Linked DNA regions of Homo sapiens: all the other regions are linked to region 2. The links are contacts of gene promoters, found by promoter capture Hi-C in blood cells and fetal thymus (Javierre and others, 2016). All regions are on one chromosome and are shown on one strand. Each heading gives the region's core, a stretch centred on a gene start or on the middle of the fragment in contact. The rest is flanking DNA. Distances are from core to core; before and after follow the strand shown.

Region 1 (2,700 bases), core at 128-2,627, 2.8 Mb before region 2:
GCAATCAAGATGCACTGCAGCCTCGACCACCTGGGCTCAAGCGATCCTCTCACCTCAGCCTCTCGAGTAGCTGGGACTACAGGCGTATGCCACAACACCTGGCCAGTTTTTGGATTATCTCGTTTTATCCTCACAACAATCCTAAGAGGTAGTCACCACTGTTGTCCCATTTTACAGATGAAGTAAGCAAGGCTCAGAAAGGTTAAGTAACTCCCTTGAGGTCAAACAGCTGGCATGGTGAGAAGGAGATCCTCGTAGGCTTGGAAGCTTTTCTCCATGGGCAGGGCAGAGCAGGCAGAGCAGGGCTGGCTTGACTGTGGGACAGCAGAGAGAAGGGACTCTTAAGACATAGGGCTGGGTAGGGTCTGCACCAAGAAGGACGGCTTTCTCAGCCCCCCAGGAGCAGGGGTTTACCGGCCAGAGGTTTACTGGCCTCAGGGGAGCTCAGGGCCTGGTCAGCAGACTCGAATGCAATCCCTTAGGAATGCATAGCGCCCCCCACTGCCTCTCTCCTCCCTTCTGAATCCAGAACTGTGAGAACGACCAGGAGAAATGGACTGAGCCCCAGGCCTGCACTTTGGAGAGGCCGCCATGGGTGTGATTTCCTTTGCACTGTTTGGGCCTCTGGCACTTCCTGCCAGGCAGGAGATTTCTTGAGACTTCAAAGGCGGCACACAAGAGGAGTGTTAAGCAGATTGAGCACTAATAAAGAACTAACGCCTAGAACAATCACAGCTTCCCTGTGATTCCTGAGAGTGAGGAAAGCACAAAGAAGAAATGAAAGTCTCTCGCTAACCCTGGGAGAAACTAAAACATCCAGGAGCAGATTCTATACTCAGTAATGTGACAGAGTTCACAAAAAGGTTATATTCACACTCGAAGCTACTGAGGCTCATGCTCAGCTTCATCGAGAGTGGTATCACCATACCCAGAAAAAAATGGCCTCCTATGGAAAAAGCTAACCTAATATCATGCATATTATTCTGGAACAAAATAAGTAGAATGATATACCTTATATTTCTACAGTGCTTTTACTTTTTAAGAATTTTAATACCACAGCAGCCAACATTATCTTGTTGCTTTCTCACATTCCTTTATAAAAATTTTCTTTAGAATGTTCAAAATCACATTCTTGCTTCCAGAAAGTCGTAAGAATAAAATTGCATTTCTCTCTCTCTTTTTCTTTTCTTTTCTTTTTTTTTTTTTGAGACAGCCTCACTCAGTTGCCCAGGCTGGAGTGCAATGGTACCATCTCGGCTCACTGCAACCTCCACCTCCCGGGTTCAAGTGATTCTCCTGCCTCAGCCTCCCAAGTAGCTGGGATTACACGCGCACGCACCACCGCACCTGGCTAATTTTTGAGTGTGTGTGTATATATATATGTGTGTAAAAATATATGTATATTTTTAGTAGAGATGGGGTTTCGCCATGTTGGCCAGGCTGGTCTTGAACGGCTGACCTAGGTGACACGCCCACCTTGGCCTCCCAAAGTGCTGTGATTATAGGCATGAGCCACTGCGCCGGCCGAAATTGCATTTTTAAATGTAAAAGGCCCCAGAAGGAAGGAGACTAAATACAGTTCCCAAGCTCCACACAGCTCTCCCCATGGGCCTACGTGGGTCTCCATGCTGAAACCTCGGGGTGAGGGGGAGGCCAGGGGAGGGAGTCGCACAGCAGTGGCCAGTGTGGCTCTGAAGGAGGTGCTGCTATGTGGTTAAGATTTTTCATACTGTGGTATGTACAGTCTTGCGTTGTTTTCTTCTTGCCTTTTAAGCATTGTGAATTCCCCAAGTGAGTTTAACTGTAAATCAACTTGGATCCTGGATCCTTTCTTTGTATCCGACTAGGGGACTTCAAGTGGTAGTCCTGACTAGCCTTTTCTCTTCTGGAGACCAGGGCTCGTAGAAACAATACTGACCTGGAAATTGTGTTAGTCACTGCTAAATGGCCTCTCTGAGCCTCAATTTCCTAGTCTTTCCTAAATTTCCTAAAAACGAGGAAACAGCTTCAGTTACCCCCAAGGAACCTGCCTATAAAAGAATTCCATGAATCTATGATGTCGTAAGACAGCAGTCCCCCACTTTTTTGGCACCAGGGACCGGTTTCATGGAAGACACTTTTTCCATGGAAGGGGGGTCGGCGGGTGGTTTCAGGATGATTCAAGCACATGATGTTTGTTGCGCACTTTATTTCTATTATGATTACATTGTAATATATAATGAAATAATTATACACTTACCATAAGGTAGAATCAGTGGGATCCCTGAGTTTGTTTTCTACAACTAGATGGTCCCATCTGGGTGATGGGAGACAGTGACAGATCATCAGGCATTAGATTCTCATAAGGAGCACACACCCCAGATCCCTCACATGCACAGTTCACAGTAAGGTTCTCACTCCTGTGAGAATCCAACGCTCCTGTCTGATCTGACAGGAGGTGGAGCTCAGGTGGTCATGCGAGCAATGGGAAGTGGCCGTAAAGACAGATGAAGCTTTGCTCACTTGCCAGCTGCTCACCACCTGCCGTGTGGCCCAGGGTTGGAGGTAGTGGCGGGGGGACCCCTGTTATAAGAGAATTGAAATGTTTAGAATTGAGTAATTAGATTTGAATTACTTTCAGTTTTTTTCTAATAGTTCTTCCCCCAATCCCCCAATGGGTATATTACATCTCCTCTCTCTGAACCAGTAACTCAAGCATAT
Region 2 (2,842 bases), core at 283-2,782:
AGGTTAGCAGAGACTGATACAGACAAACCCTTTTTCTTTCTAATTTTAGATTCAAGAGCACATGTGCAGGTTTGTTAAATTTGCCTGACGCTGAGGTTTGAGTTTCTATTGATCCCCTCACCTGAATAGGGAACACAGTACCCAATACACAGTTTTTCAACCATTACTCCCCTTCCTTCCTCCCCCTATTTTAGAATCCCCAGTATGTAGACAAATTGTTTACTTTTATAGCTGTAATTAACCTTATTATAGCTCAGCCTCAACCCTTTAGAGAGGAGGAAACTAAAGCCCATGAGACTTGCTTAAAGATACTAAGTGAACATATTTATTTTTTAAAGTGTTAAAGTGATTAAACAATGTAGACGTGAATGAAATAAAAAGCGTAAGTTCCCCATCTTCATTCCCACTCCATAGAGCTGATCAGTATTTTTACTTGCAGACATTAGTGGAGCCGTAGAGAAAGAAACCTTTTCTCCAAAAGAAGGCATTACTTTACACACTCCGTTCTGCAACTTGTTTTGTTCACTTGCTATTTCACGTCAGCCCATGCAGATGACTTAAAACAAATTCAAATGGAGAAAAGCCTTAGGCATGTTTTTCTCTGCACTAAAGAGGCCCTGCAGGTGGCTGTGGCCAACTTATGCAGTGGCTTCGAGTGAACGAACGTAATTAGTAATTAAGCAAAGCGGGCATCCAGGACATTCAGTTTCATCTTCCTGGCACTTTAGTGTTTAGGAAGGGCCTGGCCTCTCGGGGAGCGACACTCCTCGCCCGGCCACTTTGTAAGAAGCATCGAGCGTGGAAAAGGGGCTGGGGTCAGCACTGGGGCCCTCTGCCGGGAAGAGAGACTGGCGGCCAGCACACGCGTCTCCCCAGGCTGAAATGGGGCACCCTCTCGCGGCCCTTCCCTCCCTTCCCGGGCTGGGTGGCAGGTCTTGGCTCTTCTGCGAGTACCCCGCGGCTGCGGTCTCCCGGCACCCGCTGAGCAGCCTCGCCCGCCTTCCTCTCCCACCCGCCCCTGCGTGCTCTCCGGGGCTCCGGCTTCCTCGGTCTGGTGCCTGGTGCGTATTTTGGAAAATACCTGGCTCATAACCACCTCATTGAGCTCCCAGTGTCCCAGTGGGCCAGCGGACACACACGGGTAGCTGACTTCCCTAACGTGTCCCCAAAGCCTCCCTGGATTACAGCGCCCGCTGCTCCATGTGACCCCGCGGGAGCCAGGACGCGCCCCGCCTCCCGGGGCTGCAAGTTGCGCAGGGAGCGAGCGATGCGCAGCAGAGCTGGGCTCCGAGCCGGATGCGCCTTCCTTTCCTCTCCAGAGCAGGCTGCCCGCCCGCGGAATCCCGCACGTAGAGCAACCTCGCAGCACCCTCAGAACAGCCCCGCTGGGGCGCGCCGGGCTGCCGCGGTGACCTTTCCGACGCCCCTGACCCCGCATCCGGAGGCGGCCGGAAGTGTCGCCGGCCTCCTCCCGGCGCAGCCTCCGGGCCTCCAGTGCAATCACTACGCCCTGGGGCCCGGAAACCGTTTTCCGGTCTTTCGCTTTCGGCTGGGGCGTGGAGGCCGCGGTGCTGCGTAGGCCGGGCCGGGCGCAGGAACAGCCCCGTGGCGCCCTCTCTGGCCGCCGCCCGGGCGGGAAACGTCGTTCCGGGGACCGGGCGACCCCGCAGCGGGGAGCGCGCCAGGTCCGCGCGGGGAAGTGGGCGGTGTGCGGCCGGCACCGCCTCGCACCACGCCCCCGCGGGCCCGCACTTTCCCGGAGTGCACCCCGCGGCCGCCAGCCGGGGCGATGGCGGGGCTCTGGCTGGGGCTCGTGTGGCAGAAGCTGCTGCTGTGGGGCGCGGCGAGTGCCCTTTCCCTGGCCGGCGCCAGTCTGGTCCTGAGCCTGCTGCAGAGGGTGGCGAGCTACGCGCGGAAATGGCAGCAGATGCGGCCCATCCCCACGGTGGCCCGCGCCTACCCACTGGTGGGCCACGCGCTGCTGATGAAGCCGGACGGGCGAGGTAAGGGCCGGCGCTCCTCCTGGAGCGCAACGGGGTCCGCAGCCCCGTTCCCACCCTCCGATCAGCCAGGAACCCGCTGCTTGTGGCGCTGGCCGCAGGAGAGAGGAGCCTGTCACCCTGTGGAGAATGCACTCCCAGTTCTAGTCGTTGCCCCTTGGCACCCGCCGACACTGCTAGTGCCCCATCCCAAAGTGAGCATTTTCTTTGTGTGTAGCACAGGATGCGGTATTTCCAAACCCCTGCCCTCGGTCTTTTCCCACCTCACCGCTGCTCAGCTCTCAAAGCCCTGCCGTTTCCTCCTGCCTTGGCTTGGGAAGCCTTAGGAACAGAAGCTCCCTGGGAGCACAGAGCGGTTTTAAACTGGCCAACACCTTAACGCCCAGAGCCGCCCTCCTCTCGCTGCCACTTTGGAAAATAAGAGACTAGAGATTCACTGGACGCTTCCTCCCGGCATCACAAGACTTGACTGCTGCTTCAGTTCCCGCTTGACCTTCATACTTTAGCCCTTTAAAGGATGTTACATAATAACAATTAAGAGACGGCAGGGCCTTCAGGCAGACTTCTTTGGAGGGTGTCAAACGCCTTGTTTATTAAAGAGTGAATTTTTTAATTAAAATCATGTTTTAAAACAGAGATGGACATTTTATTGATGGAAAAAAATCACGTTAAGTTAGAAAGCTCTCAAAAGTACCTGGTATTTACAACTCCCTGTCAGGGAGGGCGAACTCGATCTCAGAGTTTTATTTTCATCAGGGATTACGTTGAGGTACCCAGAAATGAGAAGATTTGCCCAAAATGGCATATTTTAAAATTGGCCCAGACCAGAACCCAGTTTCCTC
Region 3 (2,842 bases), core at 178-2,677, 2.7 Mb before region 2:
CAAAGCTAAAATCCATATACTGTAAGTGGGTTGCCTTTATAGATTGCGGGACACAATAACATGAATGTATTGTGAAAGCACTTTTAGTTACCTCACTTTCCTCAGTCTTGGAATGTGTATTTTGTGGGATAATGATTATCAGAAAAGCAAAAAATTACAACGAACAAATAAATTTATATAATATATCCAATTAGGTGGTTTGGTAATTTCCTAAATTGGCTTGTTTCAAGTTACTATGAAGGTTATTGAGAATGTTTTATAGTGACTTTTGATGTGGAGGAAGTTGTTTAGTGTACATTTATGATAATCCTATTTAAAAACCTAGAAAAATGCTCTTGGTTAATAACATTTAAAGAATCCTGGTTTAAGAGAAATGCATATTTTAGAATTCTATTATTGAGAGTGAATCTTGGCTGTCTCTTACTAGACATGTAACCTCTGGGAATTTAACCTTTTAACCTTACTTCGTCTGTGAAATAGGACTAATAGCTGTCTCATAGAGCATGGCAGTTAGATGAGATGATACATTCAAAGTGCCCGGCATGGTGCAGATATCCCATGGTTCACTTATATATTCTTATTCCTCTTACAAGGAGCTCTTCTCATTTGGCCTACTTTTCAGATGGAGAAACTTACACAGAGTAATTCGGTCAGATAATTCAAGCCCATATCTGATTTCAAAACCCAAGCTCAAGTATGTTGTACTGCTTATTATCCTTGTCACTTCTCTATATGCTGAAATTTCTGAAAATCCCTCCCAGAACGTGATTTTTTACCAGATTAAGTGACCGCATCTTTCTAAAGCCTCCTTGAAATGAGTCACTTCAGAGGCTCTTCTATTATTAATGCTTCTAATACTTGCATATCTTGAATATCCTCAACTAGTGAATCATCCCATATGGATGCAGTTGAACTTTGTAAAAAGACCATACACACACAAAAGAAATCTGCACAAAAAACCCCCCAAAACCAAAAAACCAAACACACCTGCCTAAAATAGTGTATAATCAAGTTGAGTGAATAAAGTCGGCTACCAAGATGGGATATACTGCTTTTTTCAGATGAGTGAGGGGAGACGATTTCCTGAGACATCAAGATTTTTCTTGATGTTAGAATGAGATTTTTTTTTTAATGGTAAAATTAGTTGACTTGTAAGAATGATACTGTCATGAGTTTTTGACCTAAATTCTTGGAGCCTGTCACTGCTGTCATTGGCTAGGATAATTGTCATAGGGATATGTGTAACTTTAAGGCCTTTGATATGTATTATCAGGAGCCTGCTCCAATTTGAATTATGTTTTCCCTGCCAAGTGCAGCTTTTCTTGGTACAAATTTCTACTTGCTGTTTAGATTTTTGAGTAACAGCAGTGAGAAAGTAACAAAAACAAGCCGCAATTGGGAATCAGGTCAGTCCTACAGGTATTGTGTTACTACTTTGTGGACTTTGTCCTCAAAAATTGTGCTGAAGTCCTATATTGACCTACTTTCTAGACATTGGTTATCCATTCCTGCATGATTTTTAAATAATATTTTCTGTGATTGATGAATAAACTATTTCACTTTCTACTAGAACAAAATGTTCAAGTTGAATGAAGGGTTAAGCCATTTATTGCCCAACTATTCCTCCCCAAGAAAAATATCAATCATATTTCTTTGGCATCCCTGCACACAGCTTAGTTGCCATCCAGTTAGAACCATTTCTTACTACCAACTTTAATTTTAATATCTCTCGATTTTCCTCCTTTTGTTTTTGTTTTGTTTTTTTGTTTGTTTTTTTTTTGAGACAGAGGGAGTCTTGCTCTGTCACCCAGGCTGGAGTGCAGTGGCGTGATCTCGGCTCACTGCAACCTCGGCCTCTTGGGGTCAAGCAATTCTCCTGCCTCAGCCTCCTGAGTAGCTGGGATTACAGGCGTGCATCACTACACCCAGCTAATTTTTTTGTATTTTTAGTAGAGACGGGGTTTCACCATGTTGGTCAGGTTGGTCTCGAACTCCTGATCTTGTGATCCACCTGCCTCAGCCTCCCAAATTGCTGGGATTACAGGCGTGAGCCACTGTGCCCAGCCGATTTTTCTCCTTTAAAAGTCATTATCTGAAAATTATTAGTTTTTAAAGTTCTTTTTCTGTTCCTTTGCTATTCATCTAGCAAGAAAAAGAGTAGACAAGGCCCCAAACTAAATGGACTTTTAACTTTGAAGGGAAAAAAGAAAAGTAATGCTAGGTTGGGCATGGTGGCCCACAACTGTAATGCCAGCACTTTGGGAGGCCAAGGCAGGCGGATCACCTGAAGTCAGGAGTTTGAGACCAGCCTGGCCAAAATGGTGAAACTTTATCTTATAAAACTACAACATTAGCTGGGCGTGGTGGTGCGTGCCTGTCACCCCAGCTACTTGGGAGGCTGAGATAGGAGAATCGCTTGAACCTGGGAGGTGGAGGTTGCAGTGAGCTATGATTGTGCCACTGCACTCCAGCCTGGGTGACAGAGTGAGACTCCGTGTCAAAAAAAAAAAAAAAGTAATACTAAACACAAAGGGTTGGATACAGGACATTTTGAGTAAAAACTAGAGATTACATATGCCAGTACTTAAGAAGCAATCAGAAATACTTTGTGAATTTGAAACTTTATTGAATAGAATCAGAATCCTTGGAGGTCTTAGGAAGCAACCAAACTAAACAATATAAGTAGTAAATACACTAAAGACTACCATTTTACTGAAGTGGGACTATCATGTGCAATGTATATAACTTGGAAGCTAGAGACAAATGTACAAAAAGGTGATTTGGGAGGGAATCATCTAGTGATTTCCTTATACTGTTTTCAGTGTACCAGGGCTTAGACACT

The links. Contacts are between HindIII fragments. The CHiCAGO score rates a contact against its expected background, and 5 or more counts as called.
Region 1: a contact is called between a fragment that was not itself captured here and the fragment with the promoter of CYP4V2 in region 2, in 1 of 17 cell types (activated CD4 T cells). The highest score is 5.7, in activated CD4 T cells.
Region 3: a fragment that was not itself captured here is called in contact with the fragment with the promoter of CYP4V2 in region 2 in 1 of 17 cell types (non-activated CD4 T cells); the score reaches 5.5 in non-activated CD4 T cells.

What each region holds. Positions count from the first base shown.
Region 1 is chr4:183,430,265-183,432,964 of GRCh38, forward strand. No RefSeq gene overlaps it. Among named protein-coding and RNA genes, the nearest start is that of CDKN2AIP, 13 kb to the right of the region's middle. RefSeq lists enhancers at 1-491, 492-1,242. The HindIII fragment of the contact is 2,225 bases long and covers 266-2,490 here.
Region 2 is chr4:186,190,035-186,192,876 of GRCh38, forward strand. It overlaps CYP4V2 (cytochrome P450 family 4 subfamily V member 2), which reads left to right and starts at 1,533. Exons shown (of 11, transcript NM_207352.4): 1 at 1,533-2,003. The coding sequence starts at 1,790. FLJ38576 (a long non-coding RNA gene) reads right to left here and starts at 1,456. Exons shown (of 1, transcript NR_046264.1): 1 at 1-1,456. RefSeq lists a silencer at 1,330-1,859. The HindIII fragment of the contact is 5,614 bases long and covers 1-2,842 here.
Region 3 is chr4:183,448,875-183,451,716 of GRCh38, forward strand. CDKN2AIP (CDKN2A interacting protein) reads left to right here. Exons shown (of 3, transcript NM_017632.4): 3 at 1-190. Among named protein-coding and RNA genes, the nearest start is that of CDKN2AIP, 5.7 kb to the left of the region's middle. The HindIII fragment of the contact is 4,907 bases long and covers 1-2,842 here.